3 separate regions of the Homo sapiens genome follow, and regions 2 and 3 are each linked to region 1. The links are contacts of gene promoters, found by promoter capture Hi-C in blood cells and fetal thymus (Javierre and others, 2016). All regions are on one chromosome and are shown on one strand. The core of a region is centred on a gene start or on the middle of the fragment in contact, and the rest is flanking DNA. Distances in the headings are between cores, read along the strand shown. Region 1 holds the start of CD1E (CD1e molecule). Region 2 overlaps IFI16 (interferon gamma inducible protein 16). Region 3 holds the start of PYDC5 (pyrin domain containing 5).

Region 1 (3,893 bases), core at 771-3,270:
TTTTTCTTTTGTTTTTTTGTTTGCAGTTTTTTTTTCTTTTTTTAATTATTTTTATTTATTTATTTATTTTTTATTATTATACTTTAAGTTCTAGGGTACATGTGCACAACGTGAAGGTTTGTTACATATGTATACATGTGTCGTGTTGGTGTGCTGCACCCATTAACTCGTCATTTACATTAGGTATATCTCTTAATGCTATCCCTCCCCCCTCCCCCCACCCCACAACAGGCCCCGGTGTGTGATGTTCCTCTTCCTGTGTCCATGTGTTCTCATTGTTCAATTCCCACCTATGAGTGAGAACATGCGGTGTTTGGTTTTTTGTCCTTGTGATAGTTTGCTGAGAATGATGGTTTCCAGCTTCATCCATGTCCCTACAAAGGACATGAACTCATCATTTTTTATGGCTGCATAGTATTTCATGGTGTATATGTGCCACATTTTCTTAATCCAGTCTATCATTGTTGGACATTTGGGTTGGTTCCAAGTCTTTGTTATTGTGAATAGTGCCACAATAAACATACGTGTGCATGTGTCTTTATAGCAACATGATTTATAATCCTTTGTGTATATACCCAGTAATGGGATGGCTGGGTCAAATGGTATTTCTAGTTCTAGATCCCTGAGGAATCGCCACCCTGACTTCCACAATGGTTGAACTAGTTTACAGTCCCACCAACAGTGTAAAAGTGTTCCTATTTCTCCACATCCTCTCCAGCACCTCTCCAGCACAGAAAGAGTATTGAAAATAAATGTAGATATTCTACTCAGGAAACAAGGAAACTTTTTATCTTTCTTTTAACTTAGAATTTAGAAATGATAATAAGATGAAACTAGGTTTGGACCTTTTTCAATAATTCTGACCACCGTTCAGTAAATTTACTGTATAAGAAAAGTAGAGGTTTGGGGTTGAATTTTGTTTTATTTTTTCCCAAAGATGTCTATCTCTGATATCTTAGGGCCTGGCAATTGTTTTTGGTCATAGGTGGGCTCTGAATAAATGTCAGTTGAACAAATATATAAAAACCAAACAAAGGAATGTTATTTCAACTGCCTTCAGAGTGTCACAACAAATATCAATGAAAAAGAAACAAAAATAAAGACTCAATTAATTCTCCAGTGAACACTTCAGTCCTCTAAAGGTACTTCCCTGTGTCCACCCAAACTGCTCTCTAACCGAACGCAAGCAAGGGGACTCCAATGCTCTCAGGCCATGAACTAATGAGGAGCTTCATGCCTGCCCTCAGTCTTTCTTCATACCCAGGGCAAAGCTGGCCCACAGACTTCCAGACATGCTTTCTTCGTTTGGGTAGAGATGGGGATCCAAGTCCCCTATGTATTTCCTCCAGAGCCACCTGTAAAACATGGGTGAAATCTACCTGCCCTCTAGCTCACCACTTCCAGGTCAAGCCCACTCATGGACCACTTTAACAGTGACAGTTGGCTTGACTGGGGAAACTGAAAAAAAGGAGCTTTCTTTAGATTTTCTGATAATCTGCATTGCCATTGCTGCTCCTTTTTCAGCAGCACAGAGAGTTGGATTATGGAGGGTTGCCTGCTTATTATGCAGCTACATCCAGGATGCTGAGTGTCTTCTGATCATGATCAAGAGCAGAGTGAAGAGATACAGGCGGAGGAGAGGATCACAGAGAGGTAGAAGTGGGAGACTGGTGGATAGGTCACTAGGCACCACTGAGTGACTACCATCACTTCTCACAGATTAGATTATTGACAAGCCAAGTATGGATTTGATTTCTACAAGGCCAAAAGCTACTCCATCTTCTAGCCAGACCACAGACTTTGTTTTAAGCCAGGACTCGTTTTCCAGCAGTTAGTGCAATTAGGGAGGTTGGGAGGATGTACACAAGAGCAGGGAGAAAATCTGGAGCCAGACAGTGAGAGAGGCAGAGGGGAAATGAAAAACCCCGTGGGAGGCTGCAGCAAAGCGAGGCAGTGTGGCTTCTCTGACAGGGAAGTCAGCAGAGGGAGAGGTTTGTCTGTCTGTACAGCAAGGGAAGTCAGACGAGAGTGCAAGAGGGTGTGGAGAGGGGTACTGATATCTGAATTATTAGGGCAGGTGTCCTGCCAAGGAATCCCTCCTTTAACAGAGCTTCAATGCTGCTCCTGTTCCTCCTCTTCGAGGGTCTCTGCTGTCCTGGGGAAAATACAGCAGGTAAGAAGAGTGCAGGTGGAAAGATACCTATGGTAGGGCACCAGAGGGCTGAGAGGAAGCTCTGGGGAGGTCCTGGGGGAAGGGAGCAGTACTCTTCTAGGATGCCCTTGGAATATGCCTTTCAGGCTAGTTCCAGGCAGAGAATTCTTGCTCTCAGTCTCAGTTTTTGTCTCTGATTTTGGAGAAAGGAAGCTGGCCCCACAGGAAAAGGGTATTGGAGTATGTACAAGCTACCTAACTGTCTCTCATCTCTGGGTTCCTTTTTTCCCTTTGGCATCACTTTTCCCATCCCTTTACATTCTCTCTACTTGTCATTTCCCTCTCTCTCAGCTCCCCAGGCTCTACAATCCTATCATCTAGCAGCAGAGGAGCAGCTGTCCTTCCGCATGCTCCAAACTTCCTCCTTTGCCAACCACAGCTGGGCACACAGTGAGGGCTCAGGATGGCTGGGTGACCTGCAGACTCATGGCTGGGACACTGTCTTGGGCACCATCCGCTTTCTGAAGCCCTGGTCCCATGGAAACTTCAGCAAGCAGGAGCTGAAAAACTTACAGTCACTGTTCCAGTTATACTTCCATAGTTTTATCCAGATAGTGCAAGCTTCTGCTGGTCAATTTCAGCTTGAATGTAAGTTCGTTGCTCTAAGCTGATAATTTGCCTGGGAACACCAACTATTTTCCAAAGTGGAAGATAGTATATAGACTCTGACCATCATTTAACCTTACTAACCTTGTTCCCCACTCTCTGACTCCCACTCCCTCCTCTGCTTCACCCTTCACCACCACCCACACTCCACCATATACACAAAAGGGCCTGCATGTACATATCTCAACATGAATATAGCTTCATGTCTGGCTCTTTGGAATGATTGTCTCCTCTGGATCTTCTGCCCCTCATTCCTGCCCTCAGACTCAGCCTTTCTCAACCCTCTTTCTGCCCTTCTTTATCCTTTGCCTGAGTGTTGACATGGACTGGCCTGTACCTAACCACTTTCACGTGAATTATTTATGACCAATCTCCTATCTTCCTGATAGCCTTCCCATCTACCACTTTCCCATTAGTTATTTCAAAGTATCTTTATTATCTTCAAATTTTCTTCCCACAAATTTTCTTCCCCTTTGCCAGTAAACTCTAGTCTCCATATGATTTCCCAGCAAATTTTTCTTCCCTTGAATCTCTTTACTGTCTAAATTGTTTGTTTTTCTTCCTTGTCATTCTTTCCATAATGATCTCTCTTCCCTGTCCACTCTCAGACCCCTTCGAGATCCAGATATTAGCTGGCTGTAGAATGAATGCCCCACAAATCTTCTTAAATATGGCATATCAAGGGTCAGATTTCCTGAGTTTCCAAGGAATTTCCTGGGAGCCATCTCCAGGAGCAGGGATCCGGGCCCAGAACATCTGTAAAGTGCTCAATCGCTACCTAGATATTAAGGAAATACTGCAAAGCCTTCTTGGTCACACCTGCCCTCGATTTCTAGCGGGGCTCATGGAAGCAGGGGAGTCAGAACTGAAACGGAAAGGTGAGCCCAACTCTCTCTCTCCCCTCTTGTTCCTAGTACTATAACTCTCATATTTGAATTTGCCTCTCATCATCATTTTGAAAGACATAGTGAGAGACTAGAGAATGAGATGTGTGGGTTCAGGACTGTTTCTTAGACAAGAGAAAGAAGTGATTACTAAATCACTCTTAGTATTATTACAAAGGCACCTGAGTCTC
Region 2 (3,893 bases), core at 694-3,193, 670 kb after region 1:
AAGAAGGAGATAAGCTCCAACTTTTCTGCTTTCGACTTAGAAAAAAGAACCAGATGTCAAAACTGATTTCAGAAATGCATAGTTTTATCCAGGTAAGAATTAAATAGGCAAATATTAGTTTTCCAAAGTGGAAATGATTTGCTTTAAGTTTTGGCAAAAACAAGTTTGTAGGTTTTTTTTACAGAGTTCAGCGGGAGGCATGAGAAAACAGATATTCTCCTTGTATTCACATTTACTTTTTTTAATTTTTTTTTTCTGGATGGAATGATGTGATAGGATACAATTTTAAAAAGAAAGAAATCTGAACTTTATCAAAAAAATTGAACTCTGAATTTTATGTAAACTTTTAAGTGATTGTAGGGTTGGGATTTAAAATTACATGTTCTCCATTTGTGAATTAGAAAACGTCGTGTGTGTGTGTGTGTGTGTGTGTGATACTTTCTAGTTTGTAACATTACAATACACATATGTGTGTATTTAGTCCATAAAAATACCTAATTTGAAACTTAAAATTATTTGCAGTGATCAAAATTATGTCCCACTGACAAAGTTTTATACAGAGGAAGCTCTCCAATTTGTTAATTTGAATTCAAATATTCACGTGTTAAGTTTCCTTACAGTACATGATTTTACGCTGTTGCCATTTTGAATGTTGTAAATTATTTTTTATTTCAGTAGGTTTTTGGGAAACAGGTGGTGCTTCGTTATAGGAATAAGTTCTTTAGTGGTGATTTCTGACTTTTTGATGCACCCATCGTCCAAGCAGCGTACACTGTACCCAGTGTGTATGTAGCATTTTATCCCTCACCCCCCTCCCACTCTTTCCCCTGAGTCCCCAAAGTCCATTGTATCATTCTTATGCCTTTGTGTCCTCATAGCTTACCTCCCACTTATGAGTGAGAACATACAATGTTTGGTTTTCCTCTCCTGAGTTACTTCACTTAGAATAATGGTCTCCAATTCCATCCGGGTTGCTGTGAATGCCGTTATTTTGTTCCTTTTTATGGATGAGTAATAGTATTCCACGGTGTATACATACCCCATTTCTTTATCCATTTGTTTACTGATGGGCATCTGGGCTGGTTCCATATTTTTGCAGTTGTGAATTGTGCTGCTGTAAACATGCATGTGCAATGATCTTTTTTTGTATACTGACTTCTTTTCCTCTGGGTAGATACCCAGTAGTGGGATTGCTGGATCAAATGGTAGATCTGCTTTTTAGTTCTTTAAGGAATCTATACACTGTTTACTATAGTAGTTCTACTAGTTTACATTCCCACCAGCGGTGTAGAAGTGTTCCTTTTCACCACATCGATGCCAGCGTCTGTTTTTTAAAATTTTTTGATTATGGCCATTCTTGCACGAGTAATGTGGCATCATTTTGTGGTTTTGATTTGCATTTCCCTGATCATTAGTGATGTTGAGCGTTTTTCCTTATGCTTGTTGGCCATTTACATATCTTCTTTTGAGAATTGTCTATTCATGTCCTTAGCCCTTAGCCCTTTTTTTTTTTTTTTTTTTTTTTTTTTTTTTTTTTTTTTTTTGAGACAGAGTCTTGCTCTTTTGCCCAGGCGGGAGTGCAGTGGCGCTATCTCGGCTTACTGCAAGCTCCGCCTCCCGGGTTCACGCCATTCTCCTGCCTCAGCCTCCAGAGTAGCTGGGACTACAGGCGCCCGCCACCGCCCCCGGCTAAATTTTTTGTATTTTTAGTAGAGACGGGGTTTCACCGTGTTAGCCAGGTTGGTCTCGATTTCCTGACCTCGTGATCCGCCCGCCTCGGCCTCCCAAAGTGCTGGGATTACAGGCGTGAGCCACCGTGCCCGGCCCTTAGCCCACTTTTTGATGGGATTATTTGTATGTGCAATGCTTGTTCCCTGGTGCCATAAATAAATAGCATTTGAATATCAATTTAATTTTTTCAGCAAGGCCATTTTTATACTTTTTGTAGAAAGGGTACACTCGCCAGCAGTTTTGCCACAAGAGTATACGGAACAAAGGAGACAGGCTCATTTATAATCTGACGCGGCCACCCTCCTGCTGCGTTCGGTTTCCATTGGCTGGGACGGGACCTCACCTTCTGTATTTGTCCCGACTGGCTAGCACTTAGAACTTTTTAAAAGAGGCAAAGGCATAGGAGAACAAAGGAAGGAGGAAGTAACTTGTGGAATATTGAGAAAGGTAAAAACACCTTTAAATAAGGAAGAGGAACAGGCTATGACCTAATGCTTGCTTGGATCAGTATAAGCATGTTAGGGCAAATATTTAGGCTAAATTGTGGGAGCTAAGAACATAAAGTATATTGATTTTTTATTATGGCTAGCAGATATTTAAGAATGTTTGTACAGGTCTTTGAATAAATTTTGCTTTTAAGAGAAGTTACTATTTATTTCTAATTAGATGGGGAGGAAAGTTTTTGAAGAGGAACCTCTACTTTTTACAATTTCCCCTCATTTCATAATTCTTCTTTAAACTTGTTTAATATGTTTTGACTTAATTTTTTTTTGTCCTTTTAAGAGAAGTAATTTTTCAGAATAGGGTGGAGGAGAATTAGGAGTTAACTCTGCAAGAGTGGCAGAGATAAGTTTTTGTATAAAATTTCAAAGGCAGGGAATAATATAACAGCCTACAAGAATAAGTACACCAATAACAAGAGCAAACGAGGTGAGAATTGAAGTTAAATTTTTTTTTTATCCGCTGAACCAATGTTTTATTATTTTAGAAAAAGAGTTATTTATTTTAGAATTGTTGGCAAGTTTATCGGATAGGGCTGTTAATCCTTGTAGCACTTTTGTTATAGTTCTATCAGGGGCAGTATTAGGAATAAAGGTATAACATTGAGTTTTAATTATGACACAAACTTCTTTTTTTGCTAATATTATATTTAAAGCTATTTTATTTTTCTAGACCATCTGGCTGGTAGGTCCTAATTGCTTAGCTTTCTCTTTGATGGCGTCCTCAGTGTAATTTATGAATCGTTGCTGATTATAGTAGATATAGTTTATTTAGTCTACTTAAAAAAAATTTATAGTTACTTAACAGAGCAACATGGATTTAAACTCTGCAGCTATTTGATTTTGTGCTTTAAACTTATTTGGCACTTCTCATAGGACCTTAATAGCATTTATGTAAACCTAACGTTTAAAGGACTCATGAGGAGTTTCCTTTGGCCTGCAGTGTCTTGTTTTTACCTTTTTTTTTTTAGGTTGGTGAAATGCCAGGGTGCAGGGGATAGCCAGTTGGATTAGAGCATAAGTACTGCTCCAATTATTTGGCAGAGTGTCTAGTAAAAGTCCTCTACAATATCACCATACATTTGCTTGGGGATGGCTAAGCGTGGACTGATGGGCAAGCTCTTGGAAAGGCTTGAGCTCCTTGCATCCTTTTATGCTTCTAAGGAACACCAAATTTTACTCTTGCCGTGAGAGGCACAAAGTAAACTTGGCATTCAGAGGTGGAAGCAGGCTTGCCCTCGGGGGCGGACCCCCGGGGTATTGAGTTTCAGGAAATAACAGATAGAGAGCTCAGCATGATGGATTATCCTAAACTGTGGGATTTTGCAAGAGAGCCACCATATGTCCATTTCTGGTCAATGAGGAGACCGTCCGAGTGGAAAGGGGATAATCTGGCCCTCTGGGCTACCATGCGTACAAGCGTGATAATAATTTTTATTTAAAGTGCGAAGGGAATATTTAATTCATTCCAGCCAGGCATTTGCATCTTGATATTTTGTCTTAATGGCTAAGGTCTGTCTTAGATGTCTTATTTTTACAATAGACAACCTAGTTTTATTATTAGATGTAGGGGCAACTGGTGTGGGATCTAGAACCGAGGCTACTGAAGAAGGGGAAGATGGGGGAATAATGCGTGTTTTAAAAACACCTAGGGGGTCTTTT
Region 3 (3,893 bases), core at 1,394-3,893, 650 kb after region 1:
CTTATCATACAGAGAGTATGGAATGATTCTCTGTTTAAAAAAATTAAAAAAGAAAGAAAAAAAAAACTAGTGTTATTTGCTTCGAAAACACCAACCCTCAGATATATAGTAGTGTTATAATTGAAGCATTAGCAATTATTTTCTTTGTCAAATCATTTATTTCTTTTCAACCAGAATATTGGCAAAGCTTGCTCCTTCACTCTGTTCAGATTTCTGCTTGTTTTTTTCTAAGCTCATCCTTCAATGAACACATGCTGCAAAATAGCACGATACCGTTACTATTACCTCATACCATTTGTATTTCTTCATAGAATTTATCTGCTTGTAATATATAAGCATTATATTATATATGACATTATAGTATAAATGCTGTTGCTATTTGTTTATTCTTTAATGGCCAGCCTGCTGAAATAGAAGTGCCTTGTGGTCAAGCATTTGTGTGCTGTTTATTGCTGTACTCCTACCACCTAGAGTAGTAGGTCCTCAATAAACATTTGTTAAATAAACATATGTTGAATCAACTGTCTAGGCATCCCATCTAAGACTTCAGCCCTGGGAATCTCTACTTCCTAGGCTCTATTCATCCATATGGCTTGATTACTCAAGAGCCAGAGTTACCTGAGAATGCACAGAGCAAATGTCCTCACTGCACATTCTTGAAGAGGGATGTTCAAGCCAGAAATAGCATAGATAAAAAACAAAATTATAATCAAACCATATCTATCTACTTGTAGAATGATTTCAAAAGACAGCAAGGTTAAGAAGGCTTTTCAAAATCCAAGGCATTATGCCAAATATATAACATATATTTAATAAAAGTGGAAAATTTGGAAACTTCCATCTCTGGTGGGAGTAATCCAACTTCCTATGGTTCCACTGTGCAAGATACCCTAGATTCTAAGAAGGAAGTAAAACATGGTGTATTGCAGGGAAACTTCAAGTAATTGAATTTGTGTGAACTTTCAGACTAAGCTGATAGAAAATCGCATGGTTTATTTTAATGTTTCTGCTATTAGTTATTTTTTCACGATAATTTAACTGGTGAATCCAGTTATCTATTTAGACAATAGATGTATTTTTATTCTGGCTATGTCATAATATTCTGCAATTACAAAATCACATAACACTTAAATTACTGCCGTAAAGCTAAGAAGAAATAACTTGCCATATTCCAAATTCCTAAAGGAGCTCGATCTCTGTTACCTAAGCAATCCCTCCTCTGTTTTGCTCTTTTGTGATTCTTAGGCTGGAATCACGTTTTGGCTCTATCAGCCTAAGGAGCAGTTAGCCACCTGTCACTGAGTTAGGGAACAAAAAGACCAAGGCGATAGGTATTTGCACCATAAACTTCTCCTATCTTGTATGTCCATAATTCTGTATTATTATTATTATTATTATTATGTTTTGAGACGGGGTCTCGCTTTGTCGCCCAGGCTGGAGTGCAGTGGCATGAGCTCGGCTCGCTGCAAGCTCCGCCTCCTGGGTTCACACCATTCTCCTGCCTCAGCCTCCCGAGTAGCTGGGACTATAGGCGCCCGCCACCATGCCCAGCTAATTTTTTGTATTTTTAGTAGAGACGGGGTTTCACTGTGTTAGCCAGGATGGTCTCGATCTCCTGACCTTGTGATCCGCCCGCCTCAGCCTCCCAAAGTGCTGGGATTACAGGCGTGAGCCACCGCGCCCAGCCAATTCTGTATTATTTTGCATTTCTGACACTCATGACTTGATACCTTAAACATTCAAACACATAGAAGCACTTATTTGTGTGAACAGCAGTTTCTTTCCTTGAACCAAAGATTGTCAACCCTTAATCTAAAACATAAAAGGAAATAAAATTCAAACACCACTTCTCCATTACTTGTAAATTTTATTTCTCTCTTCTTAATATATTAATACCCAAATTCCAGCCAAAATATTAAGGATGGATGTGGTGGCTTATGCCTGTAATCCCAGCACTTTGGGAGGCTGAGGTAGGTAGATTGTTTGAGCTCTGGAGTTTGAGATCAGCCTGGGCAACATGGCAAGACCTTATCTCCAAAAGAAAAAAAAAAGGTTAAGAAATCTAAATTTCAGTTAATTTTGCCCTTATTGCTAAGTAAATCTGAGTAAATTATAGATGTTAGTAATTTGGGGTAAGAATTCCCAAAACCAGCCGGGCATCGTGACTCACGCCTCTAATCCCAGCACTTTGGGAGGCCGAGGTGGGTGGGTCACTTGAGATCAGGAGTTTGAGACCAGCCTGGCCAGCATGGTGAAACCTTGTCTTTACTGAAAATACAGAAATTAGCCAGGCTTGATGGTGCATGCGTGTAATTCTGGCTACTTAGGAGGCTGAAGCAGGAGAATCACTTGAACCTGGGAGGCAGAGGTTGCAATGAGCCGAGATCGTGCCATCACAACAGAGCAAGACTCCGTCTCAAAAGAAAAAAAATTCCCAAAACCAGATGTTTAGGGTGGAGAGTTCATTACTGACAACAGTAGAGAATCTCATCTTCAATTTTAGAGATAAATTATATCAAGGGAAATTTTGACAGCCAAAGTGAAGTCCTGAAATTAAACAGAGTAAAGAAATTATCAATCTAGTAAAGATCCTCAAAGAATGCTTTCTGGAGAACAGTTTTAGATAAAATAAGCAAATAAAGAATGAAGATAGCAGAGATAAAGCCGGAGAAGTAGAAACTATCAATGTTTTTACCCCCTTCAAAAATAATGTTGAAACTTAGTACCCAATGCAACAGTGTTGGGAGCTTGGGCCAAATGGGAGGTATTTAGATCATGAGAATTTCACTCACGTAAATAGACTGATTAATGCCACTCTAACGGGCATGTAGGGGGTGAATTCGCCCCGTTTGTCATGTGAGGACACAGCAAGAAGGCCTCACCAGATACTGATGCTTGACCTTGGACTTCCACCTCAAGTACTGTGAGAAATACATTTCTGTTCTGTATAAATTACCCAGTCTATAGTATTCCATTACAGCAGCACTAAATGGACTAAGACAGTGGGAAAGTATGCATGTCCATTACAGGGAGGGTCAGAGAACAGGAGTTTTCATGAACCAGAAACTTCTTTCACTCATATTTTCTCCATGAGACATGCAATAAACAGATGAATGATGCCAACTCTGGCCTTGTACAGTATATCATGACTGGTTCACATCACTCCCCAGGTTTCCATATGCATTCACTCTCCTCTCCTGCCTCAACACTGAGTCTCTTTTATTCCACTCCAAAGTAAAGAGGTCATCCCTAGAACTACAGAAGCTCTTTCTGCCAACAGAGTTGTCTGGAGTTTATGGCATTAGCTTTGAGCAACAGGAAAAGTAGAATACAAAACTGCAATACAGAAACTACAAAATTTCAAGGAAGGACTGGCTGAGAGAAGCCTTGAGGTTGGAGGGGAAGGAATGGCATTGTTGTGAAAACGTGTTCTGGGAACTGAGCTTAAATTGAATTGTAGGAGGCTGCAGTCCCACTGGAAAATGCATACTGGCACCAAGATGACTGCTGCTTCCAGGAACATCCTCCCACTCCTTAGCAATGTGGAACAGATTGAAGGAAGCTCAAACAATCCATTTAAGCAGGAAGTAAATAGATTAAGAGAGCAACCAGATGGCCTAAGGCACTATCGGTATAGCTATCCCCACCCCTCAGCGCCCCCATCAGCTTTTCCTTCCTTGTTTCTTCTCACTGTCTGAAAGACTACTCAGGCGTGCACTGCGAGGTGGAGATCTGACTTCTCTTGTTCCCGCTTAAGACTGCCTCCTGTGTAAGTTTCTGCTATCTAGATCTTTGACTACCAACCAGCCAGGAGTGGTCTGCCTCTTCTTTGGTCTGAGCTTGCCTTGTGCTTATATTGTTGTACCCAAGCGAGTTAAGAAAATACCCCACAC

Evidence for each region. The method cuts DNA at HindIII sites, captures the fragments that hold promoters and counts their contacts. A CHiCAGO score of 5 or more calls a contact.
Region 2: a contact is called between a fragment that was not itself captured here and the fragment with the promoter of CD1E in region 1, in 1 of 17 cell types (fetal thymus). The highest score is 6.5, in fetal thymus.
Region 3: a fragment that was not itself captured here is called in contact with the fragment with the promoter of CD1E in region 1 in 1 of 17 cell types (fetal thymus); the score reaches 8.3 in fetal thymus.

What each region holds. Positions count from the first base shown.
Region 1 is chr1:158,351,874-158,355,766 of GRCh38, forward strand. It overlaps CD1E (CD1e molecule), which reads left to right and starts at 2,021. Exons shown (of 6, transcript NM_030893.4): 1 at 2,021-2,173; 2 at 2,504-2,800; 3 at 3,427-3,696. The coding sequence starts at 2,116. The HindIII fragment of the contact is 6,143 bases long and covers 1-2,771 here.
Region 2 is chr1:159,020,438-159,024,330 of GRCh38, forward strand. It overlaps IFI16 (interferon gamma inducible protein 16), which reads left to right. Exons shown (of 12, transcript NM_001376587.1): 6 at 1-92. Among named protein-coding and RNA genes, the nearest start is that of IFI16, 12 kb to the left of the region's middle. The HindIII fragment of the contact is 4,898 bases long and covers 1-3,893 here.
Region 3 is chr1:159,002,273-159,006,165 of GRCh38, forward strand. PYDC5 (pyrin domain containing 5) reads right to left here and starts at 479. Exons shown (of 1, transcript NM_001320010.2): 1 at 1-479. It also overlaps a transcript of IFI16 not described here. RefSeq lists enhancers at 3,115-3,640, 3,641-3,893. The HindIII fragment of the contact is 4,916 bases long and covers 186-3,893 here.